2 separate regions of the Homo sapiens genome follow, and region 2 is linked to region 1. The links are contacts of gene promoters, found by promoter capture Hi-C in blood cells and fetal thymus (Javierre and others, 2016). All regions are on one chromosome and are shown on one strand. Each heading gives the region's core, a stretch centred on a gene start or on the middle of the fragment in contact. The rest is flanking DNA. Distances are from core to core; before and after follow the strand shown. Region 1 holds the start of ODC1 (ornithine decarboxylase 1). Region 2 overlaps CPSF3 (cleavage and polyadenylation specific factor 3).

What was found. Contacts are between HindIII fragments. The CHiCAGO score rates a contact against its expected background, and 5 or more counts as called.
Region 2: a fragment that was not itself captured here is called in contact with the fragment with the promoter of ODC1 in region 1 in 2 of 17 cell types (activated CD4 T cells and non-activated CD4 T cells); the score reaches 6.3 in activated CD4 T cells.

Annotation. Positions count from the first base shown.
Region 1 is chr2:10,443,864-10,449,588 of GRCh38, forward strand. It overlaps ODC1 (ornithine decarboxylase 1), which reads right to left and starts at 4,464. Exons shown (of 12, transcript NM_002539.3): 1 at 4,258-4,464; 2 at 1,292-1,401; 3 at 1,068-1,186; 4 at 611-784; 5 at 232-404. The coding sequence starts at 1,169. It overlaps SNORA80B (small nucleolar RNA, H/ACA box 80B), which reads right to left and starts at 2,986; the gene lies at 2,851-2,986. RefSeq lists silencers at 2,401-2,630, 3,855-5,334 and an enhancer at 3,645-3,734. The HindIII fragment of the contact is 2,497 bases long and covers 3,653-5,725 here.
Region 2 is chr2:9,425,209-9,431,008 of GRCh38, forward strand. CPSF3 (cleavage and polyadenylation specific factor 3) reads left to right here. Exons shown (of 18, transcript NM_016207.4): 2 at 3,557-3,620; 3 at 4,715-4,812; 4 at 5,544-5,672. Among named protein-coding and RNA genes, the nearest start is that of CPSF3, 4.5 kb to the left of the region's middle. The HindIII fragment of the contact is 3,044 bases long and covers 959-4,002 here.

The DNA of each region.
Region 1 (5,725 bases), core at 3,214-5,713:
TCTCATGATAGATGTTCACTTATAGCCACAATTAAAATAAAAACAATCCTGTTCTAAATACTGTCGCTGATATATTCTGTAGTTTGAGTCCCAGGCTTCATGACTCAATGGGGGTTTCAACTACTTTCTACTAAAGTATAGAAATATAATAATCAGAAATTTAAGTTTGTTTGATAAGAATCCACATATCTTATGCTCCCGATCTTGCCCTCAGATGGGGGAATAACTCACTTTGCTTTGGGATGTGCTCTGGCAACTTTCATCAACTCAACTTCACTATCAAAAGTCATCATCTGGACTCCATTATTAGCAGCATACTTAATTTGAGATACTTGTTTACAAGGATTTGCATAGATAATCCTCTCTGGAGGCACCCCCAGACTCTGCACCAACTGTATTTCAGTCTGAAAAAGAAGAGTGGTGTCATGCTATCCATATGTGGCTTAACACGTGGAATAAACAGAAAAGCATGGGAAGTTGTCATGTACCCCCCCGCCCCATTTGCCTTTAGTGAGCATTTATTGCCCAAAAAACACAACTTGTATCTGCCTCGTGGGGAATACCAGGCCCATTTTATACAACGCTTTTGAGGCCTGCTGCTATCGCTTACCTTGCTAGCACAGTCAAATCCTGTCCCGGTAGCAGCAAGGGTCTTCACGATGGCTTTGCTATCATTACATTTGACTGCATAAAAGGGGGTGACACGAGGGAGAGCTTTTAACCACCTCAGATGTTTCTTTAGAATGTCTCCCAGGTCTGCCACATAGAAGGCATCCTTATCATCCTGAAACAAGAGTGGTCACAGGTGACTCACTAGCAGCCTCACCACACACCACACCAATAGCCAGCGACCTTCATTCCCATCAGTCACAATGAATCCTGCTCTTTTGAGTCTAGCCACTGATATGAGTATCACCATTATCACTATTAATTTACCACCAGTGAATTAATTTCTACATTCCATAACAAGACATGTAAGCCTCATTGCTCTTCCTTAGACCTTGCCAAAGTTTTCCACTTGCCTGGCACTCTCAGCTGCACTGCCAGCATGGGCCTCATATACTTACAGAAGAAGAAACTTCATTAATTTTCTGGTCCAGAATGTCCTTGGCAGTAAAACCTTCATCGAGGAAGTGGCAGTCAAACTCTTCATTACCAAAGTTGTTCATGATTTCTTGATGTTCCTCTGAAATGCAACAAAATGCAAATAGAGTGGAGAAATTCACTTAGAAGCCTTAGCAATACAATTCTTAAGATTAACCTGCAACATAAATGTAAACTGAATACTTACATGGAAAACTAAGAGATGGAATTGAAAGAAATATTTCCAGCTTCTCACAAAGGCAACTCTCCAGGAATTCCAAATCCCTCTGCGTGTGCCCTTGGAACAGCAGTGACAATCTGAGAAATAAAATAGGGAATTTGCTGTCTACCTTAGGAACACATCGAGTTGAAGATGGGGCACTGGCTGAGCACACGCAGAGCTAATCATGCCCCGGATATGAACCACTCACTGGCCTGGTCATCCTAATTATTACTAGGCATAAGGTACATGATTCCATAAACCTTGGCAGTATAAGGACACAACAAAAAATACCAGGTTTTTCCAAGGCAGCACACTAAGCATTTCAAATATTTGTACCAAAAAAATCTAGCATGCAAGTTTCAGAAGCTTATCTGCACTTAGCTCACTGATATGGAAAAAAGTCTTATAATGGTCTGATTTATTTCAGAGCAGTTTCAGTTCCTTAGAAACTTAAAATAGCATTATAGACTTTTTTATTTTTTTTGAGACAGAGTCTCACGCTGTCACCCAGGCTGGAGTGCAGCGGTGCAATCTTGGCTCACTGCAACCTCTGCCTCCCGGGTTCAAGCGATTCTCCTGCCTCAGCCTCCCCAGCAGCTGGGATTACAGGCGCCTGCCACCATGCCCGGCTAATTTTTGTGTTTTTAGTAGAGACAGGATTTCACCACGTTGTCCAGGTGGGTCTCAAACTCCTGACCCCAGGTGATCCACCCGCCTCGGTCTTCCAAAGTGCTGGGATTACATTATAGCCTTTATACACAGCCATACAAACATTTCCTACTTCCACTAAGTCTTAGAATGATTTTTACTGACCAACAGGCATCATGGAAATGTCTGGAGCATTTGAGATTTTACGAGTTAATTTTCATGTATTAGCTGGGTATATACTTCTTAAAAACTGTAATCTTCAAGTCAACTTATCACATTGTATTACAGTTGCTGTTACCTGATCAGAATTCAGTATTTTTTTTTTTTTTTTTTGAGACAGAGTTTTACTCTTGTTGCCCAGGCTGGAGTGCAATGGCATGATCTCGGCTCACCTCAACCTCCGCCTCCTGGGTTCAAGCGATTCTCCTGCCTCAGTCTCCCGAGTAGCTGGGATTACCGGCATGTGCCACCACACCCGGGGCCTGGCTAATTTTATATTTTTAGTGGAGATGGCGTTTCTCCATGTTAGTCAGGCTGGTCTCCAACTCCCGACCTCAGGTGATCCGCCTGCCTCAGCCTCCCAAAGTGTTGGGATTACAGGCGTGAGCCACCACGCCCGGCTAGAACTCAGTATTCTTAAACCAGCGTTGCCTACCAAGTTTAGCAATTCCGGGAATGCCAACTGTCCTTACAGTCACTCTCGTATTTGCTTAGCTATGAGAATAATTTGGGGCTAACTTCACCAAAAAAGAAAAACAAGCAAGAACATCACTCTAGTAACAATAAAAGCCACTGTATTTTGCTTTCATCAAATGTGGCACCTTGTGAACCAGCTTTCTTAAAATTATTTATTTTAACCTTTAAAAATTTCTGCCAGGTAGAGCTTTCTTCTTTTCCACTGTGCAACCCACTTCAGTGCCAGCAGCCTACGGGCACAGAGGCCAGGCAATGGTTCGGGGACACAGTTTGCTCTGGCATGGGGTACTATGACAGGCCCAGGGTGACGGGCCTGTCATAAATCCAAACCCATGCATAGAATTTGCTTTAAAGCTCTATCTATTGTGACTGCTTGGCATTGTCAACCTCCGAAGTTGCCTAAATCACCCCTCGGAGAAGGGAAGAGAGTAACAACGCTAGCAAAACCATTTTTGTTACAGACATGGTTATATATTTTTGTTTATATGAAGAATATTTACAATTTAATAATAAATAGGCTCATGCAGTCTCGGACTGGGTCATTTGAGGCCTTATTAAATATTTTTAAGGCAATGTTCAGGCCTAAACTTGGAAAGTTTTGATTTCTTTTTAATACGCCAATACTTTTTTGCTTTTCTGTATCTTTTAAGGCGTTACTTAAGTAACTTACTTGAATATATTTTACTGAAGAACACCTTTCGGTCTTTCTGTAACAGCTAAGTTATTTAAAATGGTCAATCAATTAGCACAAGAGGATAATGTTAGAAGAGATAGGGGCTAATTCAAACAAACTTTGAAAAAAATTTCACAAATCAATTAAAGTCTGCCCAATTTTATGTTTAAACAAAGTCAGCCAACACATTCTTTGTCCTCCCCAGACATTCCTGAGAGGTTCTGCCTTCTACACTTTCACCAATTATTTCGACTTCGCAAACAGCACAATCAGCCTTTTCTGCAAACCTTAGGGCTGTCTCCCCTGTGTATGTCCGTTCATCTAAGCCAAGCTTTTCCGAAATCACCGAGTCATTCACAGTCCTTAAATAAACACCTCTAAGTCATGGCCGAGCATCTAATATCACAGCTACTACAGCAAGACTATCTTAGCTCTACCCACTCTCGCGGGTTTCCAAATTGGTGTCATCTGCTCTGTAGACACAGCGAAAATAAAAACTGGAAGGAAACTGAAGGCGCCAAGGCCGGGGCCCGCTCGTCTGTACCAAGGCGAGCCCGGGCTCTGCGCCCCTGCACCTGCTGCGCGGCCGCCAGGGCCTCCCCAACGGCTCCCCGGCCAGCGCGCGGCCGCCGAAGGGTTGGGAAAGAGGCCGGCGCGGGGCCGCAGGGTCTCCGGGTGGGTCTCCCCTAGGCCCCTCCAGCCCCGAGCTGTGAAGACGGGGGCAGAACGAGGCGCCCGGATCACCCTTATCCAGCCGCGGGAGAACCCCGGGCCGGGAGGAAGCGGCGCCTCAAGGTCGTGGCCCGCTCGGCGACCACGTGTCTCCGCAGGCCGGCGAGGCGCGCCGCACACGTGCCCGGGGCCCGGGGCCCGCAGCCCGCCCCGGCTCCCGCCCTCGCTCCCTCCCTTCCTCCGCGGCCGGGGAGTCCCTCACCTCAGAGCGCCCAGGCGCCGCAGGCCAGCCCCATGGGGAAGCGCAGACGCCGGAGCCTGAGTCGCAGCCGCAGGAGCGCTCGGCCGCCCCCGCCGCGCCCGTCAGCGCCTGGCTCCCGCCCGCCGGAGACGCCGGCCCGAGGTGGCGCCGGAGCTGCTGGCAGAGGGGCGGCGGGCGGCGGCGGCGGCGGCTACAGGAGGGACTGACAAAGCCCCACGGCACGCCGCTCCCTACTTATAGCACCGGCGGGTCGCCATGGAGACGCACCAGCTCAAACCAGCCACGATCGGTTCCGGCCGGGACACCGCCGGGGGAGGGGCGGGGGCCCGGCGGTGGCCAACCCGGGCCCGCGCGGAGCTGGTGGGGCGCCGGCGGGCCGACGTCAGCCGAGCCGAGCACCGCCTGCCCCACGCGTGGCCCCCGCCCCCGGCTTCGCGCCCCGCCCTCCCCGCCCTGCGGCCGCCTCTCCCCGCCCTCCCCGCCCTGCGGCCGCCTCGCCCCGCCCCGCCCTGCGGCGGTCTCGCCCGCCTGGAACTGGTCCGCGCACGCGCACGACGCCGCAGGCCCCGGCCCCGGCCCGCGGCAGCTGAACGGCAGAGCCTGTAGCTGCACAGCTGTGCTTCCACCTGGCGTTCAGTACCTCGTGCCCGAGAGCGGAAAAGGGAAATCGCGAGCGGAGGACCGATGTGCTGGCCACGTGGGCCCCGCCGGGCCGACTCCGGACCCTGCTGCCGCCCATTCCTCCGGTGCAAGGGACCTGGAAGTGATCCCGGTGCCGCTCTGCTCCCACCAGCTAGGGAGCAGAGGCGCGGGAGGGAAGGGGCGTCCCGGGGGTCGCCAGCACGCTGCGGGCAGGGCTGGCAGCCGCCTCCACGCCCCCGCGCTGGAAGCCTCGTCTTTGTAACATCGAGGTATCCTGTAACTAGATGGGTCCTGGCCTGCGGAGGTAGTTTCCCCTGTGAAGCCAGGGACTCAGCCAGGAGCGTGAGGGGACCCGGATCCTGAGTCTCCAAGCCGCCCACTACCCTCTGCTTTACCGGATGGAACTCATCAGTAACTAGGTATCTTTAAGGGCGGCTCCCTGGCGCGCTCTGAGAGTTACGGAAGTCCCAAAATGCTTTGACCGAAAACGTCTAAACAGTGAATACATAAAGCAAAAAGCCGCGTGGGAAATTCGAGTCCCTAGGAGCGCCCAGGGGACGCCTCTGGAGGTGGACTGCCACTCACTCCAGGCCACGCTGGAATGCCCGCACCAGGGAGGCACTGCACTTGAATTGGGGACACTTTTTTTTTTTTTTTTCATTTTTACCTTTCATTCCCTTTTGGACAATCCAGACAGGATATGTCTCTCCCTAGGGTGGGGATTTCGACTCCTTAGGGTGGGAGTACAGCCGATGAAGAGTTAAGGAGAGGAGTGGGTAGATCTAGATCTAGCCTTGGGTGGGTGGGGGCGGGGTTGGAGGAGCTC
Region 2 (5,800 bases), core at 1,231-3,730, 1.0 Mb before region 1:
TCCTCATGGCTGTAGCTAAAGAGTTGAGTTAGCAGATGAAGCGACAGGCAGTTGAGGTCCAGTTTAGGAAGCACCTCGTATACACAGGAGTTTGGACCTTTATCAAGTCAATTACAGGGAGCCAGCGAAGGCTATTAAGCAAGCATGGATATTGTGGGAATTATGTTTTAGGAAAATCTCTCCTGGCAGCAGTGTAGCAGATGAATAAAAGCATGGATGAATAAAAGCATGGATTGAGTAGAGCAGATTCAGTGAGATATTGAAAGATTCTAAGTCTAGCTGACGAGAGCCTGTAGTGAGTGATGTGAGTGTGAGAGAGTATGCAAATGAGATCTTCAGGATTTTGTGGCTGATCAGCTGTATCTGGAAGGGTGGTTGTGGGGAGGGAAGGCAGGGCAGAGAGGATGTTATGATCAGATTCCTAAGTTTGGCAGTTGGGAAAGGGTAGTGTTATTCACTCAAGGAGTATAAGAGATGGGGCAACTCTGGAGTAAATTTGGGAATTTGGTTGTTTCGTAACAGCTTTATTGAGATACAGTTTACATACCATACAACTCACAATTTACATACCATACAACTCATTTAAAGAGTATAATTCAGTCGTTCTTAACATAGAGTTATACAACCATCACCTCTCTCTAATTCCAGCACATTTTCATCACTCCCAAGAGATACCTTGTATTCATTAGCAGTCATAGACAATCCCCACTACCTCTCCAGCCCTAAGCAACCACTAATCTACTTCTTTATAGATTTGCCTGTTCTGGACATTTCATGTAAGTGTGATCATACAATACATACTCTTTTGTCTCTGGCATCTTTCATTTAGCATAATCTTTCCAAGGTTCAAAATTGAGGAGTTTTGTTCATTCAATAAGTATTTTTTGTGATGTGCTACATGCCAGGTACTGTAGCAATACAGCAGTGAATAAGATGGACAATGCCTCTGTTCTTAGGAAGCTTTCATTTAGTAGCCTGAAAGAAGACATAAGTAGGTACAATAACTTCATGTAGTTGTATTAAGATAACTGATGCTGGGTTGTGGCTTGCTGTGAAGGGCAAATTAGAGGAGGTAGTCAAGGGAAAGCATCTGAGAAGGTGACGTTGGAACTGAGACCCAAATGATACAAAGGAGCCAACCACATCAATATCTGAAGACAAAGCATTTCAGGAAGAAAGTAGAGCAAGTACGGGGCATGTGGTGGAAACTAGTTTGGCATCTTGAATATGAAGTCCCGGGAGAGATCCTAGTAGAGATACCTAGTGTCACGTGTATGTATTAAAGGTCTAGAATTCAGAAGAACAATCTGGGTTACAAATACAGGCTTGGAAGTCCTTAGCATGTCAGAAAGATGAGAATGAAGATTGAGAAGTTGGCCAAGGAGCAAACCCTCGGAATATCAACATTTAAAGGGTAGGCAGAGGTGGCTGAATATGTGAAGGAAACAGGAAAGCCAGCAAGACAAGATGAGAGCATCAGGTCAGAGAAGCCAAGGGAGAGGTGCTTGAGGAAGGAGCAGGTACTCCTTAGGAGTGACAACGGCTGCCAAGAGAACAAGATAGGGACTGACACCTATAGTTCCAGCTACTTGGGAGGCTGAGGCGGGAGGATCACTTGAGCCCAGGAGTTGAAGGCCAGACTGGGCAACATAGGGGGACCTTGTCTCAAAAAAAAAAAAAAGACTGAAATGACTACTGAGCAGCAAGGACAGTTTCAGAAAAGTGATTGGTAAAAGCCAGAGTATAGCGAATTGAGGAGCGAGTAGAAGGTGAGGAAGTACAAGAGGGTCCACTGCCCTGGGAGGTGGTCTGGGGAAAGAATAAAGTGGGAACTAAAGGAGCTTAGAGTCAAGGGATTTTAATTTGGGGATGAACATGGCTGTAGTATGTTTAAATTTGGATTGGATGGTAAAGAGCAGACAGTGAGGAAAATGTCAATGACACAGCAGTGTTGAGTTCCTCAGAAGGAGGGAGGGAGTACGTAGAGTAGAATGGTGGAAAGTTTCATTGTGGAAAGAGAGGTCTATTCTATCTATAGAGGAGAAATAGAAGGAGACAGATGTGGGCAGGTTGGTACCCTGTTGGTACATGTATTCTTAATTATTGTACCAACATGAAGTTGAGGAAATTTACAAATGGACTGTTTATTTTTTTGATGCAGAAGATGGCCCATGCCTCAAGTGAAGAAGAGGATAGAAGGTTGGAAAATTTGGGAAAGGGAAGAAAGTTTGAAAATAGTTGATATGGAAATGAAATGGAGAAAACAGCCAGGCAACATTGAGGGCCAGTTAAAGTGGAAGGCCAGGGTATCCACAATAATTACAAATAAAAAATGTTTAAAAAGTGGAAGGCCAGGAATTTATGGCGGCTCTCATCCACAGTTGTTTGATCTTCTGTATCAACACCTGTTTGGAGGTAGGATCTCAGTTTGGGGATAGATCCATTGCATGTCCATCTGACTGAGTTCCTTGAGGTCAGGGTCCCTGTAAGGCATTTCCATGTCCTAGGCACTTAATCCAGTGCTTGGCAAATAGAAGCTGCTTAATGTTGAGTGAGTGAGTGGATTGTGAGCTAGAATGGTTGGGAAAAGGCATCAAAGAAGGTGAGGGATTTGAAAGATGAGGTTTAACTTAAAGTGTGCCTTGTGACCATTGCAAATTATGGCTGAAATTATTAAGAAGAAACAAAAATTATGTAAGTAGTTGGTATAAAATATGCTGAAATAACAGAAAGTAGAAGAAAAAGTGATTGAAATTCACAGTATGAATAAGTATTTTAAAAAAAAAAATTTTTTTTTTTTTTTTTTGAGGCAGAGTCTCGCTCTGTTGCCCAGGCTGGAGCGCAGTGGCGCGATCTCAGCTCACTGCAAGCTCCGCCTCCTGGGTTCACACCATTCTCCTGCCTCAGCCTCCCGAGTAGCTGGGACTACAGGTGTCCGCCACCACGCCTGGCTAATTTTTTGTATTTTTAGTAGAGACGGGGTTTCACCGTGTTAGCCAGGATGGGTCTCGATATCCTGATCTCGTGATCTGCCTGCCTCGGCCTCCCAAAGTGCTGGGATTACAGGCGTGAGCCACCGCACCCGGCCATTTAAATTTAAGCCATTTGGCAAATACACATTATGATCTTAAAGAAGATGACAGTGTTGAAATGCTTATGGCTTTCTACTTAAGTGCTAATTCTAGAAGTATTATTATATAATCTGCGTAACTGCTAGTTTACATTTTAAATACATTATAATTTAATCCTAAAATTCAGAAAATTGAATTTAAATCAAGCCCAAACCTTTGGGCTTCTTGGATCTGTACCGCCTTCTCTCTTAATTTTAAGAACTGCAAGATCCCTGGACTCCCAAGGATCAGTTTTCATCTGTTCTCATGTGGACACTGTTCTTCCCTGTCTTTGTGATTTTGTAGAACTCTCTTACGTCTCAGAATTTTTCAGTGAGGTGCTGTCATCAGATGGCATGTAGTGTACATTGTAAAAAAGTGTAAGTTTATTGGACTTGGTTTTGATTTTTTTTAATCCTTCTTTTTCTCCCCTTGAATATTTACAGTGGAGCTGGGCAAGAAGTAGGAAGATCATGTATTATTCTCGAGTTCAAAGGAAGAAAAATAATGGTAATTACTATTTTTGTACTCAGTTTAATAGTATGGCTCTGTCTGTATTGGGTGTTAGTCTTTTCTCATAGACTAGTTATCTTTTTAGCTCCCAGAAAAATGTTATAGTACATGTAATCTATGCTGTATAGTGTTAATGAGAAAAACTAATACACACTTCTACTTAGTAATTTAGTTGATTAAGAAGATATATTCTATGACTGTAAAATTGTCAGCTAGATCTGTTGAACTGTTACCTCTTCAAAGTCCCTCTTCCACTCCTGAAGGGTTGAGCCAGCCTAACTGCCCCACCCCCAGTGGAAGATCCCAAGGGCCCAAGCACTCTGAACACACTGAGAGCTCTAGCCGCCTCCAGCATGTGGGGATCAAGCCTTGGCCTAGAAGCTTGGATCCCCAGGTCCCACTGGGGCTGCCGGCCTTGGCCAAGTCACTTTGCTTCTCTAAGCCTGAAAGGTAGAGGGGTTAGAGGAGATAGTTTCTAAGGTACTCATTAGAAAGTCAGTTCTGTGTCTCAGATTCCTTTGATTCCTCTTTCTTCTCAACTCCTCCCAATCTGAAAAGAACATGTATAGGTCAGACATAGTCATCCTTTTAGTCATCTGTTTTGTTAATTTGGTAGTAACGCCATAAAAATAAGTAACTTTAATGACTGAGTCTTAAGAATTTGTTCCCTAATGCCTTAAAATATTTAAATTACCCTGATCAGGTAAGTTTCCCATTTCTAATTATTATCTTCTCACGAGAGTCGATCTGGTAGTAGTAAATCTATAAACTTTTAAAATTTTAATCTGATATCAAAGTTTTTGAAAAAGATTTAATTCGTTGTTAGAATGACGACCAAAAGTAGCTGGAAAGAAGCTGTTTTGTACTTTGCATCCTGTGACCCCTAAATGTGAGCTATATTTTAAATTTGTTGGGAAGTTAGAATTGTTAATGGCATATTTGCCACATTTAATAAGAATCATGTTCCAAGTGCTAGTGCCTGGAGTCCATCTTGAGTATATGGGTGATGGAACTAGAATTATTGCCTATTTGCCGAATGAATTTTAATAAAATGTGCAGGAGATTGTGATCTCTTTTCCTGTTTCTTTCAGCTCGACTGTGGGATCCACCCTGGCCTAGAAGGAATGGATGCTCTTCCTTATATTGATTTAATTGACCCAGCTGAGATTGATCTCCTATTAATTAGTCAGTAAGTTTTTCCCTTTATTAATGACACTTTTTCACGGACTTTTACTATCAAGATCATTCTTTACTAGATTTTGAGAGTTTGGTTTTTTAAAAGAGTGTTTTCTGCTAGGAAGCATATTGCAGACATCTGAGTCTAAACCAACACTCCGTAATGTCATCACAGGCTAGAGAAGTTTGCTATGAAAAACTTACCTACCTCTATGTATAAGTTCAGTGAGTATGTGAGAAGGAGATAGTACAGAACTTGAATCATTGTAAAACTTGAGACTAAGAAAGCCCTTTTCCAGGATATCTCCTTGAGGTCACTGTTTTATCACATTCTTCTATAAGAACGCCATTTCACCTTTATTGAAACTATTTTTAAATAGAGTTCATATAGAAAAATGTGACAAGACAGTGACCTCAGGGAGATATCCATGTTTCAACTTTATTCTGTTAAAATGTTTGCTGTAATTCTGGCTGCCAGGAGTAGGCTTGGGATATTCTTCTTCCTCCCTAATTCACTAATAAAGTTTTTTGCTGTTTAAAAACAATACTTTAAACATCTTTCCTCCATTTTAGAACTGTATGCATTACTTCTTCCTTCTACACATACCTACTCTTGGTTTTTCTGAAAGTATCAGCACATAGTTGTTTATATAAAACTTGTTTTGTACAGTAAGCAACAGTTTCATTACATGGTATCTGATGGATAATAATTTTAAGAATTAATGCAGCCTCTTTCTTTTTAAGTTTCCATTTGGATCACTGTGGAGCTCTGCCCTGGTTTCTACAGAAGACAAGTTTCAAAGGAAGAACATTTATGACTCATGCCACAAAAGCTATTTATAGATGGCTTCTTTCTGATTATGTCAAAGTTAGGTAAATTACTTTATTAGATTATACACGACTTTGGCTCTATATGGCATGTATGGTTCAAGATATGGACCATTTTGTGTTTTAAAATGAGGTGCTCCCTTTTCATGTATAAGGATATCAGTAATTTCATC